Linked DNA regions of Homo sapiens: region 1 is linked to region 2. The links are contacts of gene promoters, found by promoter capture Hi-C in blood cells and fetal thymus (Javierre and others, 2016). All regions are on one chromosome and are shown on one strand. Each heading gives the region's core, a stretch centred on a gene start or on the middle of the fragment in contact. The rest is flanking DNA. Distances are from core to core; before and after follow the strand shown.

The links. Contacts are between HindIII fragments. The CHiCAGO score rates a contact against its expected background, and 5 or more counts as called.
Region 1: a contact is called between a fragment that was not itself captured here and the fragment with the promoter of CST9 in region 2, in 1 of 17 cell types (total CD8 T cells). The highest score is 5.9, in total CD8 T cells.

The regions. Positions count from the first base shown.
Region 1 is chr20:23,331,053-23,338,940 of GRCh38, forward strand. The region is part of intron 1 of NXT1-AS1 (NXT1 antisense RNA 1); the gene reads right to left. LOC105372571 (a long non-coding RNA gene) reads right to left here and starts at 4,815. Exons shown (of 3, transcript XR_937379.3): 1 at 1,515-4,815. The HindIII fragment of the contact is 7,152 bases long and covers 31-7,182 here.
Region 2 is chr20:23,603,919-23,611,365 of GRCh38, forward strand. It overlaps CST9 (cystatin 9), which reads right to left and starts at 1,999. Exons shown (of 2, transcript NM_001008693.3): 1 at 1,692-1,999. The coding sequence starts at 1,946. The HindIII fragment of the contact is 2,472 bases long and covers 503-2,974 here.

The sequences.
Region 1 (7,888 bases), core at 2,357-4,856, 270 kb before region 2:
TAGGATTACTTATACTCAGAGATAGGGCCAAGCTTGTCTCCCACAAAGATGAAAGAGTTGTATAAACTCACCTCAAAGATGCTCCAGAAAGGAAATCAAAACAGTTTCAGAACTTGAATAGGAATCAGGAAAGAATCAGTGTTAAAGTATATTTCTCAAAATACAAATCACCTAGGGTGGGAGTGGGGGCTTGTGGAAGTTCACATTCCCAGGTCCTGCTCAGATGGACTGAATCAAAACACTAGAGATGGGTCTTGAGTTCAACATTTTGAGCAAACTTGCATTATTTGTTTGCTTGTGGTTGCACACAAGTTTGAGAACCAATGCCATAGATATTCAGGAACAAGGACATATGCAGGAGCTGCATTTTAGGAAGCTAAGTCCAGCAGTTTATGTAATATGCACTAAGGGGAGGGGGTGCTGGACACCTGGAGAAGATCAAAGAAGGATGGAGGCACTTGCAGTAATCCAAGTGTAAAGGCAGAGCCTCGAGTCAGGTCTTGTAGAAGCAGAGCCAGAGAGAGGGGTGTGGGTGCCCATGACTGGAGGGAGGACTCAGGAGGAAGAGACGGAGGGAAGCAGAACAAGTCAGGGAAGGAGTGAGATGGCCTCATATCCGCTGCAGTCACACCTCAGCCTGGCCCCGCTGGGGGCTCTGGAGCAGGGGCTGCACTGTGGCATTGATCCACCTTGACTCACAGGCACCATGTTTGTAATGTGGCTATTTCCAGCCAGCACACACAACAGCTGGGGGTGTGACCACTCAGTAAAATGAATTGGGCAGGGCACCTGCAGAGTTATAATACATCAACCCTGGAACAATACACACCCCTTCGAATTTACTGACAGGCCAATTTTCAAGCCAAAAATACAGTCCTCAAAAGGGTGTCAGTGGCTGGCCAAGGGAGGTATTAGTGGTGTTAGAAGGAGAAAAGGAATCAATCCCTAGAGAAGATGCTACTTCTTCAGGGTCTGATGATTTCATTTGCAAGGATTTTTATTGGTGTTTTTTCTAAGCAAAGTTTACTGGAAAATACTAAAAGAGACCCATGGCAGGGACTGGAAAGGGAAGAGGAAGAAGTGACTAAGCTGATGTTTTACGCATGACTGACTGGGACGATAACAGTATCAGAACAGAAAGGACCACATTCAAGTCTTCTTTTCTGTTTCTCAGATGTTCACTAGAGCCATATCTGACCAACCAAGTTCCTTCAGGAGGGACTCAATCCTGAGATCGTCAATTCATCTTTCTCTCACAATAGCTTCATTAAAAACCCCACAATTCAATGCTGACAAATCCCCATTACTTCTCATTATAAATCTTAAAACCATAAGAATTAGCGTCTTCCTTACTACATAAACTTCCAGACCTCAAATCTCACCTTTTTTGGGTAAGGGTAAGCTATTTGTTGACATTTGCACAAACTTTTGCCTGGCAGAAAATTTTTAAATAATTTCTAAAGAATCATTCAAATAAAATGCCAGACCCAGGAAGAAAGAACAATTTCACTCACCAACAACAATAATGTCTCCCTCAGCCATCTATCCACACACGTCCAGGCACATCCCTTTTTGGTTTGGAACTGGTCAGGTGTGCACTGTGAAGGCATGACAAGTTGCTTCAGGAAAAGAACGATCAGGTGCACAGGCTGAGGCAGGCAGACAGGCTCTTATCTCTATCCCCAGTAGATCCATCACAGGGCATAAGAACAGCATAGCTCTTTGAGTAACTGGTTTCTGTGTAAGCAATATATGACATTTCACAGACATTAGGCTCCCTCTGGGAATTCTTCTTCTGCATGGCTCCTTTACAAAACGAGATCCTCTTCAAGACTGGTTGGTGCATCTTGGTCAATAAGAAGAACATCAGCTCTATCATCATCTAACCCTTGAGGGTTTTCATTTAAATTATTGATTACTACCCACTATTGTAAAACAGCCTTACTATATCTTGAGTAAAATGCCACTTTTACAACCCTTGGTCTCTACTTTATATTTTTATTATGAGCTTTTCAGATCCTCCTGATATGGATTTAGCTTACAATGGTCAATGAAAAACAATCCAAACAACCAACACGTATGAATAAAGACAAAACAAAAAAATTTAGAACCCAGAAGTCATTTGGCTTTGACTCTGTCCAATGCCAGCTGAGTCCATTTTTCTTGTCCTATTTTCTCTGCTAAATGAGCCCCCAAAACTCGTTCCAGAGAAGTGAATAAAATGCATGACTCAGGATTCCCATCTCATTTATCTCCTGCCTCATGGAACCAGAAGCCCCTTTTGTCCTCCATCAATCCCTGTTTAAATAATATTCCCACCTGCAATAAACTCTTTCTTCAGTCTCCACCAAAGGGCCAGCCCGTTGCATGCACCAACCTTCACTGAGGGGTTCGGGGTCTGAGAAGTGACTGGCTTTGCCCTTCTATGCATGCTTGCTTTATTACTTAAGGTTATGACTTAATGCTACTTAATGAAAACCCTGGCTGGCGGGTCTGCAGAGCAATGCTTCAGAAAGGGCTCTGGATAGATAATCACCATTTGCCAGAGCCCCTCAGCATTCCCAGTGCCTCCTTTCTTTCTTTTTTTTTTTTTTTTTGAGATAGAGTGTCACTGTCGCCCAGGCTGGAGTGCAGTGGCATGATCATGGTTCACTGCAACCTCCACCTCCCAGATTCCAGCAATTTTCCTGCCTCAGCCTCCCAAGTAGATGGAATTACAGGTGTGCACCACCACGTCTGGCTAATTTTTGTATTTTTAGTAGAGATGGGGTTTCACCACGTTGGCCAAGCTGGTCTCAAACTCCTGACCTCAGGTGATCCACCCACCTTGGCCTCCCAAAGTGCTGGAATTATGGGCATGAGCCACTGTGCCTGGCTGGCCTTCTTTCCCTTCCCTGTTTGCTTTCCCACTCCCTACTGGTGCTCCCGAGCATCACCTGCAAAATGATCAAGGAGTTCATTCTTAGGTCAGGGAATCCATTCTGAGGTCAGGAAGTCCATTCTGAGTTCAGAAAGTTCATTCTGAGGTCAGAGAGTTCATTCCTAGGTCAGGGAGTCCATTCTTAGGTCGGGGAATCCATTCTGAGGTCAGGGAGTTCATTCTGAGTTCAGAGAGTTCATTCTGAGTTCAGAGAGTTCATTCTGAGGTCAGAGAGTCCATTCTGAGGTCAGGGAGTCCATTCTGAGGTCAGGGAGTTCATTCTGAGGTCGGGGAGTTCATTCTGAGGTCAAGGGTCCATTCTGATGGCAGAAAGTTCATTCTTAAGTAAAGAAGTTCATTCTGAGGTCAGGCAGTTCATTCCTAGGTCAGGAAGTTCCTGTTTAGGTTGGGGAGTCTATTATTAGGTCAGGGGATTCATGCTTGGGTCAGGAAGTTTATTCTTAGGTTGAAGAGTCTATTCTTAGGTTAGGGAATCCATTATTGCTTCGGGAGTTCATTCTCAGGTTGGAGGTTCATTCTTAGGTGGGGGATTTATTCTTAGGTCAGGGGGTCCATTCTGAGGTCAGAGAGTCTATTCTGAGGTCAGGGAATCCATTCTGAGGTCAGAAAGTTCATTCTTAGGCCCAGGAATTCATTCTGAGGTCAGAGAGTTTATTCTAATGTTGGGGAGTCCATCCTGAGGTGGGGGGGGGTCCTATTCTTAGGTCAGGGGGTCCATTCTGAGATCAGGAAGCTCTAACCTAAAACAGTCTTTAGCTGGAATCCCAGTGTGGCCACTTAGTAGCTGAGTGGTCTTGAGTAAGTCAGGACCTCCAGGTCCACATGATGATCCCACCAGGTAGGCTCATTCCCTGGGCAAATCTCACTACTCAGCACCTGCTCTGTAGCAGAGATCCTGAGAGTGCCCATGTGTGGTGGGTGCTCAGTGTCCTCTTCAGATTCTGCTCCAAGGCCAGGGTACCCCTTCCACACTGGTGGCTGAGCGCCTTCTGCATCCTCACCAAACCCCCCGCTGGTCTAATGAGCAGCCTATGGAAGGGACACGGGGAACCCTTGCTTCAACTCTGCAGGTTTCCAAAGCTCCAAGCTCCCCAGGGGCCAGTGGAGGCCTCTGTTGCAGCAGCATCAAAGCCCCACTGCTCTCTTACCCTTCCCAGGTGGGACTCCCAAGATCCCCTCCCCAACGAACCCCTACATGCAAATCTCCATCTCAGGGTCTGTTTCTAGGGGACTCAACCTGAGACGTACTTCATAATGTTGCTGCAATCATCTAGGACAGAATAATCATAAATAGCAAAGCTCTGAAAAATGTTAAAACGTAAGTAGTAGCAGTAGTAGCAGCAGCAGCAGCAGCAGCAGCAGCAGCAGTAGTAGTAGCAGCAGTAGTAGTAGTAGTATTTTGTTATTGTCAACATTCTCATCATGAGGGTCTTATGGCCTGGACTCTGGCCTGTGGGTCTCAACCCTCCCATGGCCTCCTGCAACCATCTCTCCCCTACCCCTCCATAGCACATAGCCTTATAGATTAAAATGTTCCTAATGGCCCCCAAACTGGTTGTGGCTCCCCCAGTGCTTGGGGGATTTCAGAGGGGCTGGGTAACAGTTTGGCTTCTGCAGCCATTTCTGAATTTCACTTTTGGTTTGTTCATGCTGTGCTGATGCTTCAAGAGTTGACCACAAAGTAGCCACCAGTCACCAAAGTGGCACAGGCTGGCCTGAGGGTCATGAGCCGACCCACTGGGCCATGAGTAACAGAGGCAAGCTGGCTACTTGGCTTCCCCTCACATTTCAAACCCGTTAAGCCAGGCAGGGGTGTGGGCACGCTGAAAGAACGTTCTTGTTCTCAATCTCTTTTAACTGGTGATGCCAAGAAGAAACTTAAAAAAAAAAAAAAAACTGACCAGGCGCAGTGGCTCAAGCCTGTAATCCCAGCACTTTGGGAGGCTGAGGCGGGTGGATCACTTGAGGTCAGGAGTTCGAGACCAGCCTGGCCAACATGGTGAAACCCCGTCTCTACTAAAAATACAAAAATTACCTGGGCATGGTGGCAGGCGCCTGTACTCCCAGCTACTCAGGAGGCTGAGGCAGGAGAATCACTTGAACCCGGGAGGTGGAGGTTGCAGTGAGCCGAGATCATGCCACTGCACTCCAGCCTGGGCGACAAGAAAAAGACTCTGTCATAAATAAACAAATATATAAATAAATTAATAAAATAAAATAAAATAAAATAAAACTGAGTTGGGCCAATGTGCAGCTTGAGGCAGTATTTCTCTGAGCCCTTTGTTCTCTAAGGATAAATCTTCCGAAGAGCGGCCCTCACATGGGTGGTCCAGATGAGGCAGAAGAATAGGGTCTGGAGGCAGGGAACCTAAGGCCATTTCAAGCTGACTTCCTAGTACTAAATTCAAAGTAAAGCCCTAACTTTCCACACCTTAGTAACAAAAAGATCAGAAATCACTCCCTTTGCAAACCCTCACCTTTTCTGTGCAGCAGATGCGAAACTGAAAATACCTCTGATTGGTTGCTTTGTGCAACCAATCAGATGTTGCATAGGAGCGTAACTTTGTAACTTCACTTCAGCCTCTGATTGGTTGCAGAAAGCAGGCCGCCACTTCATTTACACCGGGTGAACACCAAGTGGCCAATGGGAAACCTCTAAGGGGCATTTGGACTCTGTAGATTCTATATCCTGGACCTTGAGCTGCTGCTCCACCCATTCCCACACTGTGGAGTGTACTTTCATTTTCAATAAATATCTGTTTTTGCTCTTTCATTGCTTCATTCTTTCCTTGCTTTGCTGTGCATTTTATCTAATTCTTTGTTCAAAACACCAAGAACCTGGACAACTTGCAGTCAAGACCAAGACCGTCTACTGATAACACAGGTCAGATACTTCACAGCCTGCTACTGAGGGATGCTGTGGAGCTTCCAGGGCCCAGGATCCTTGTTGGATCCACAACTTTCCAAGTGGCCCTCAGCACTCTGTGACCCCCACGTGGCAGCCTCCTCCCAGGAGAGACTTCTAGCCTGTATTAGCTTCATGCCAGCCTCCCTGTGTGGCTGTTCATACAATATGATGGCTGTGTTCCTTACCCAAAGCCTCTGTTCCCCATGGGCAGGAATGCCCTTGGAAGAGGAGCACCAGCGGGGGACAGGCCAGACACAGGGCAGCAACCTCATTAAATCTCATCCTTAGGGTCTTTGCTTTCTCTCATTTGGCACTTCTACCCAAATCTAGTCCCACTGCTAGATCCTGAGAAGACACCCATTTTTACATGCCACAGAGCACTTTCCAGCACATTATTCTTCCTCTGAGCCCCCTGGGGTAGCTTGGGTTTGGCATGCTGACCCAGCACCCCATCCTTTATCTGGGATCTGAGTTGTCTCCACTAGTCACAGAGGTAGTTGCAAGAATGGGCCTCACCAATTAAATTACTTCATGCACTGTCACAGCTTAGTGCTTGCTGCCAACTCTGGCTGCATAATAAATATGCATTTGAAAAGGGCACAGCAGAGCCTGCTGAAGGCTCATCCATTGCACATCTGACAACTGATGTTTGCTGTCACTGGGGCCTCACTCAGCTCCTCCCCAAATAGGCCTGTCCATGTCCTCTTTCCAGCTGGCCTAGTCCAGGTTTCCTCACAGCATGGTAGCTGCATTCAAGGGTGAGCAGAGAGAGACAGAGGTATGGGGAGTTGGAGGGAGAGAGAGAGAGAGAGGAAAAAAAAGAAGAGGGAGTGAGCACAGGTGAGCTGAGTGGAACCTGCATCACCTTCTATGACCTAGCCTGGGAACTCCTCTCTTCCCAGATTAAACGGGAGGAACATAGACGCCACCTCTCAGTGAGAGCAATGTCAGTCATGTTGTTAGAGCAGGAGGTCTGGGACATCTTTAATTGTTCAGACGCCTTTGGGCAATGCAATCTGCCACCAGTGACATGCACTCAGTACCTACCTGAAGTCAGGTACCATGTGTGCATCAGGTCATAGCAACCCTTTGATCTTGCCAAAGCCTTGAGGCAGATTAACTTGCCCAAGATCATGCAGCTGGTAAGTGGCAGAGCCAGCATTTGAACTGAGGATTCTCAGCTCCAGAGGTTTCTATGGACTTGAGTTTGTTCTCATAAATTTTGAGAGGTAATTGCATTCCTTATATATAAAAAGGAACAAGGCAAAAAGTACAATAGAAGAACAGAATACTAGAAAAAAGGACCAGTCAGGAACATGAGATCATGAAAGTAAGCTTAGAAAATAAAGATATAATTGGCCAGATAAGGCAAATAATAAGTCAATAGAAAGGATACACAATAAAGTTATTTGTTTGTTTTTAATTCCCAGGGCACAGGCAAAAAAAAAAAAAAAAAAAAAAAAAGAAAGCAAGCAAGCAAGAGAGAGGCCAAAATTGCAAAAACAAGAGAAAGAGGAGAGAAAGTAAATGGGGGAAAGCCATAAAAAAAATAGAATAACTTTTCCAGAGGATGAAGGAAACCCATACAGACTGGAAAGGTCCAAGGATCATTAGGGAGTGACTCCAGGGGTAAAGGGCTTTTCAAGCAATGAGGGGTGCTCTGGAAAGGCTGGCCCATGAGATGAAGGGATTAAGGCACATTATTTTGTCAACAGCAAAAGCAACAAAGACAAAAACAATTAGGAATTCCAAGAAAAACAAGATCCTGTTCCATAAAGATATAGCCGAATAGAAAGTAAACTAAAATAAGCATGGTGTAAGGAGGGTTGGAAAAGAGAAGGCTGTACACTGGACTTTGAATCTGGGAAAGTCACCCTTTAGGGGGTACAGACATCGTGGGAGAGAACAGAGCAAGTCCTACATGTGTGTGTTTCTATAGTAATCAACAGTTAGGCCTAATAGTGAAAATGCTTCTTATTTCTTTTCAATGCTTAGACTCAATCTAGACAAAGAATAAACCTAATCATCGCTGTAGAACA
Region 2 (7,447 bases), core at 749-3,248:
GAGCAAAAAGCAGGTGGGCATGGTGGGTCTGGGGAGGATGCAGGCTGAGTCAGACCCCACTAACACATTATCCACCTCCACCCACCCCCATTTCCCACGGTGAGACTCCAGCTTCACTCTCAGTAGGCATCTGATCTTGCAGCTGCATTCCCAGAGGACAGAGCCACATGTCCGGGAGGGTGTTGGATCTCCAAGAGTTTTCAGGGTAACTTCAGCCCTGGGACAGAGGGAGCCTCATCTACAGTGTGTTGTCAAACCTTCCAAGTGACCTCCAGCAAGAAGAATGACACACAGCGCTCCCACTACACACAGGCACACACCCTGGGAAAATGGGTTCAAGAAATACCATCTGCCCTATTGCAAAGTGCATGCTGAAGTTCTCCTTGCCCTCCTTCCCACTCCATTCTATTTAATTCCACTCCATAGCCTCCCTCTCACCCATCTATTCTTCCCAGCCCCCAAACTGATGCTGGGATTGCCATATCCAGGAAGCCATGTGGAAAGCTTTTAGGACTTACTGTCATTTAGGACTTATAGACCATAGTAAGGAGCTTAGATTTTATTCTAACGGTATTAAGAATGGAGGCTTACACTGAGGTCTTGGAGAATCAAGCAAAGCACTGGGAAAGCAGAAGCATGAGGCCTGGCCAATCTCAATCTCTGAGACTTCCAAGGTTCCAGCATGAATATTAGCAGCCACCATTACTGGACCAGATGCCCCTCTGAGGGTTGCATCAGGCTTTTAATTCTCCTGAGAGGAGGCAGCAAATGAGCAAGGAGGAAAATTCCTCTGTACCAGCATTGGAATCCTGAGGATGGCAGTGAGGAATCCACCCCAGGAGGCAGAGAACCAGCCAGAGCCTTGCACAGAGTCTTTCCAGAGCTTAAGCTCTGTGCGGTACTAGAGTCCCTCTGCCTTTCTTTCAGGCTCTTGGTGCTGAGAAAGGAAGAGCAATGCTCCTTCTCTCTCTAAACCAGAAGTTCTCCACTAGGAGGGCATTTTAATTGTTCATGCCTGAAGCCCAGATGAACTGTGCATTCCTGACCACATTTAATGATTTCATCAAAAAGGCAAGCATTTTAGGATAAAGGTCCATTGAGGAAGAGTGTAAATTGGCCTTCAGTTCATTAAGTGCAGACAGAGCAAGGAGCCCAGAGAAGGTGGAGATCAGAGAACTAACCTTTCACGGTGGCCTCTCAGGGCTGATGGTGTTCTTTATTGCCCTCGAATTCTCACTGTTCTCTCTCTGTCTGCCTGTCTCTCTCTCTCTCTGTCTCTCTCTCTCTGTCTGTCTGTCTCTCTCTGTCTCTCTCTCTCTCTCCCTCTGTGTGTCCTTGCTTTTCCATTTTCATTTTATGACCTGGAAATGTTTATCAGTCTCTTTGGTTATTTTCTCTTCTTGTCAGCTTCATCTCCTTAGAAGTCCTTATTTTGAAGTCACTCTTCAGTTATACAATGTCTTAAAAATCATGAAGATTGAAAAATATATTTTGCATGTGAATAGACATTTACCTAATTTAAAAAAAATTTTAAGTTCAATGTTTTCCAAAACTAAAACTACCGTAATTGGTTGTGGACTACCTGACTATGGACTGCTGATGGTGAACCAAGTCTCCTAGACTAGACATCTTGGTCCCTCACTTAGGGGCAGATGGAGAAGGACAGGCCAGAAGAGGATGTGGTCACCAACCTTTCTGTCCATGCTATCCTCCCTCCATGAACTCAGGACGCGCAACAGCCTGTAGGCATGCTCCTCCTTGCTCTGCACGTTGAAAGTGTTCAAGGCAAACTCCACTGTGGCGAGGAACATAGGATCCTGGACTATTTTATTATTACCACCCATTTCCTCTTCAGAACACCAGGCATAAGTCACCAGGAGCTGGAAGCCCATGAGAAGCAGTGACAGTGCCCAGGGCATAGCCTTCCTCCTCTGCGGACTCGACATGATGCAGGCTCCAGCAGCCCTTGCCTTTGCCCTTCAGATCCCTGGCGTCCACTGGAGCCTTCCAGGGCTCAGGTCTGGCCTTTAAATTCACCTGCTGGGGCAGAAACTCCTCCCTCCAGGCCTCACCTCTGCAGTTACACCCTGTCTCTCCCACACATGGCCTCCCTTCTTCCAAAGGCGTTTAAATCATCTCCTGTTTAGGGGAGAGGAACAGCACCCAGGCAGGTGGGTTGGAAAAGACTAGCAATGGGAGAGATAGTGCCCTGAACATGAGGCCCAGCCCCAGCTGCCCCAGCACCTCCGCAGGCTAAAGGAGACCTCTACTGGGCGCCCCAGAGTCAGAGCCCGGCACAGGAACACAAGTGTGAGAGGTATGAGTGGAAGGTGAGCCCTGGACTCAGCAGTGGGGGTGGGCTGGGAGGGGGAGGTTAGGTGGAAAGGCAGAGACAAAAGGATGGAAAGGGATGACAGTGGATGCTAGTATCATGGGTGAGCAGGTACAGCGCCCCGAGAAAGCACTGGGCCTCTTGAGAGAGAGGCGGGGAGCCCGGGAGGATTGGCGGGATGTCCTGCAGGTGTCTGCTCCCCCGAGGGTCTCGGGAGGGGGGCACCAGCCTGGGGGTCGTGGGCAGAGGTTGAGGAAATCAAGAGCAGGAGCCCCCAACCCTGTTCTCTGCACCTCCCTAAATGCAGCTTCCCAGCCCAGGGACGCGCTGCCAAGTGCTGGTACTAGGGGCCTGGCTAGTTATGGCTGCCCCTATTCCTCAAAGGTGTTTCCAGGACGGGTGGCCGCTTGCAATTGGAGCAGTGGAGAACCAGAAAGACGAAGATGCCCTCAGGGATGGCTGAAGTGCACCCATTAGGTTGTCACGGGTTCCCTCCTGTGGCCACAGCCGGCACAGCACTCTGCGGCACAGTTTGTGGGTGGAGATTCTGAGTTCTCGACCAAGACCCACATAGCCTCCAACTCCAACCGCAAATGGGGCTCTCAAAAGACTGAATAATGCACTCTTCACAGACCAGACTTAAGCTTTGTCCCTGTGAAATATGCCTTTGATGTTTATCCGTAGCTCCTTGTAAACTTCAGAAGCAACCAGCATCCCCTGATGTCACGTTAAAAAGCAAGTTCCTAGTTTCCCCACCCAAAGATTCTGACCCAGTAGCTGTGAGCAGGGCCAGGGAAACTACATTTCTCACCAGCTTCCAGAGGATGGTTGTGTTCCCGGTCTCAGAACCATACTTTGAGTGGTGCAGGTTCAGAATACTTCCTGGGAAGTGCATACAGACCAAACCACATATGAGAAGTAACTCAGCTTGAGGGGCATGGAGGTCAGGGGATGAGAATGGCTTTTGTGGGGCACACAGGATGGGGGACAGGCTTAGACAGCATGCCTGGTGATAAAGAATAAGAGTTTGTTTCTAGACCCTGTTTGCAAAGAAAAAGCAACTCAATGTGACAATTCCAGGAAAGCAGCCAGATGTGCCAAAAACATCACCCAAGGAGTCTGTATCCTTTCTCTGATGGCGTTGAGTTCACTGGAACTGCAGCTGAAGCGTAACTAATGTGGTTTCTTAGCTGGAGAGTGATGGTGCACGTAGGGGTAGGAAGGGGGTGTCAGTGAGGGCGGAAATGCCTTTGTGGGTTTTGGGATGAGCAGGCCATAAGGTGCTGTGAGAACTAGAATCCTGATGCCTGGAATAGGTTGCGAGTGTCCTGAGAGAGGCCTGCAATGCCCATGGAGGTCACTCTCACCTTGTAAGTTCAGCGGCTGACAAACTTGGGGCATCCTGCCAATTGCCAGTGGCTCCCCCACCATTCTGAGGGCCGATACCCACATGTGCTCCAAGGGAGTGCCCACACTCACTCTTACATGAGCAGTGGTTTAGGGTCCTGGGCACCAGCTCTGTCCTCACTGTGCAGCCAAGGAGGGGACAGGGATCCCCACACCCAGATGTGAGACCACGGGTGTACAGACACCATGGACCCTTACAAGTGTGTCTATTTTCTTGTTGAATCCCCAGTGGCCTGGGATGGCCTCACTTCCCAGGTGGAGAGAGACGGGAATATCAAGACATAGCCAGGTAAAGAGAAATACATGTGGGCTCCAGGCTGAGGAGCCCCGAAGACGTGGGTCAACATGTTGCCGAGGCCAGAGTGAAACCGGACGGCCCGGAGGGGCTGGCTGGCCAGCCCACAGGCACAGCTCACAGCTCTCTGCAGGGCTATCCCCAGGTCTCAGGTCTGGGAGGCTTTCTCTCCTGAGTCCCCTTGCAAGAGTTCTGTCTCACTCAGCTTCTTCCTGGGCACTCGTTGGCCTGTCTGTCTCTGGGGCCACCGGGACTTGTCTGGTGCTCTCTTTGTGTTGCTGGCACTGGCACCGAACACCCATGTGGTCTCATAGGAAGGTCCCAGTAACTCCTCACTGAAATGGACCTGCTTTTCCAGAAACGAGGCCCTGTATTTCTGAACGCATTCCTTTGAATGATTAGAGAATGCTGGCAACGACCAGGACCAAGCCACTGGCCCTTTTCTGTGAAGCTGAACATGAGGCGGTGGACGAGGGGAAGCCCAGTGACTCTTCGGGACACAGGACGCTCTCCCCAGCTCCCGCAGACCCTCCAGCTGAGTGCTCTCCCCGGGGTCGGACTCATGTCCCTCACTGCCCGGCCTACTCAGCCACATGCTCTAAAGGTCCCGTGCGACCTTGCTCACTGCCTGTTTCAAGCTGGGCCAGGCTCAGCGGGGCCTGCCAGTTTCAGGATCGCCTGCTGGGCTTTGGGATCACTTCCTCGGGACCCTCCCCATTCCCCCTGCTTGGCATTTCCCTAGGAGACTCCCCAGACAAGCCAGCATTCCCAGGGGTTTCCGTGTGCTGGAAAACAAGGTGGTGTCCAGGAGATCAAAGGAAGACAGCAGGGGCAGGGAGAAGCCCGGACTCAGAGCAGAGTGAGTGATCCAGTGATTGCTGTCATAGCAATCATCAAAGGGGCAGCTCGGGGCAGGGGGGTGAGCGGGGCTGGGTGGGGGTGCTGCCAGGGAATTCCAGAGCCCCCTCCACTCCTCCCTCCCCTCCTCCAGGTTTTCCACCTGGGGGGTTCTTCTTAGCTCAGTCTTCAGCTGACTTTGAGTTTTTATAATTTAAGGAATTAATCTCATATAGACTTATGGCAAATTTAAACTGAGAAAGAGGAATAATGATTGAATTAAAAAATGACAAAAGGAGAAATAAAAATACAAACATTACCGGTAAATATAGAGGCCTAAATCAGGGGTCATTCGTACCACATGCAAATCGGAAGGCCCATGGGCTGTTTCTTCTCCTTCCTGTGGGTCCAGCAGGTCCCTCACCCTGGCTAAGTCGGGGGTGCTGCCCTGGGCCCAGGAGCTTTGCTCTGAAGAGGAAGTGCTGCCCCAGTCACCCTCAGCAGCCCTCCTGTTTGCTGGCCTTTGCCGAACACACCTGCCTTCGCTCCTCAGTGGGCGTTTCCTCAGCTTCTGCTGTGCTCCCGACGGAAGCCTCTCCCATCCAACGCAGCCCATTGTTTTCTTTCATAAGTACTTTAGTTTTTAAAAAACTGTAAGTTAATTTAAATTTAAAACAGTACAAAAATGTCATAATACCACTTCTTTTTTATTTTTAAAATTTTCTGTAGAGATGGAGTCTCACTATGTTGCCCAAGATGTTCTCGAACTCCTGGCCTCAAGTGATCCTCATGCCTCAGCCTACAATTCCACTTTTACTAAGTGAAATGTAGGTTTCAACATAATAGAAACTCCAAATACCAGTGGCTTAAACAAGCTGGTGTTGCTTTCTCTCTCAGGATGCTGACAATGCTAGAATTCTTTCATAAGCCTCACTCCTGCTGGGCACTGCCTTAGGCGCTCATTGACTCCTTTAAGCCTCACATAGTAACAGTTCAGCCAAAAATGGTATATATCATTACGTTTTACGTTTTTAACATTTTGCATAAATAATGACTGTATGTCTTACCACTTTATGCCTTTACTGAAATCATATTTGTGAGCATCACCTGTGTTGACACTTGTCGCTCTAGCTCCTTCATTACCACTGTTTTGCTTTATTCACTGGGACCTTGACCTGAATGACTGTAGTTAATTAAGTCCTTCCTGATTTAATTGGGAATGGTGAAATAGGGTGGAGCTTATAGGGTCAGGTGCTTGTGATGAAAACTAACAGACAGTGGTTTATTAAAGCATTCTCTACTGACTTGATTTTACACTGGGTTGATTCCACTCATTTCCTCTTAAATTGGGGTTGCAACGGGCACTTTTGTCCTGGTTTTCATGTGCACAAGTATGACAGCTTCTCTAGGGTCAGCACCAGAAAGAAAATTGCAGACATATGAGATCACCTCCTTTCAGTTTTATTAGGGATAGCTGTGCTGATGATTTTCTTTTCTTTATTCTTTTTTGAGACGGAGGTCTCACTATGTTGCTTAGGCTGGTCTTGAACTCCTGGGCTCAAGTGATCCTCTCTCCTTGGCCTCCCAAAGTACGAGGATTACAGGCATGAGCCACCACGTGCAACCTGATTTCTTTCACCATATAGATTTTTCTTAAAAATTGAAGACGGTTTAATGTATCAATGTTTTGTTTAGGGTATGTGCTTTTGTAATTTTCATTTCAACAATCCTTTCCTATGCTCTTCTATGTTCTGTTTCACCATGTTCTTTCTTTTGCTTTTCACATTTATGTGTGCGATCCAACTGGAGGCTAAGTGTGTGTGGTGTGAGGTTGGAATCCCAGGATCGATCGTCTGCCCCACCACCTGCGTGCACAGCTGGCTTTTCCAGCATTGACGATGGAGCAGTTCATTCTCCACCCTCTGATTCCAACAGCATTTCTATCGTAGTCCCCTTTCCCCAAAAGGCTGGTTGCCTTTGAGCCTCTTTTCTATTGTACTGGCTGTATGAAGGAGGCACAGGCCTGAGCTAAGAAGGTCATTGTTTGATCTTGGCCAGGAAAGGAAGAAAAATTCTTGGGCACTTCCCAGACCTAGGCACACTTCCTGGGCCCTACCTGCTAGAATAGATGGGTCTGCTCCCTGGTTCTAGCCCCTGACTCCCTGCCACACCCTCCCATCATCGGGCTGCTGCTTTGCACTAACATCCTCTCTTTGGGGCATATAGTCTGATTTTGGATCCCAGCTTTTCGGAAAAGCTTCATGTATTGGCCATGATTATTGATGCTACTGTTATCGTCACAAGCACCTCACCCTGCAAGCTCACCGTGCCCTTCCTTCATTCTTTGGAAACATGAGATTTGTTCTTGCGGGCAGCTTGTCTTCCTGGGAAGTTGAAATTACCTTTTTGATGCAGACAAGCACTTGTCCTGAAGAGTAACGGGAGGAACCAGGTGTCTATCACTGAGAGGCGGGAGTGCAGAACTGGAGACAGGATAAGTGGGGCAATCTTGACTGATTGCAAGGAAATAGTACTGTTATTGGCTCCATTTGTAGAGGCTGGAGTCTTTAGATGAC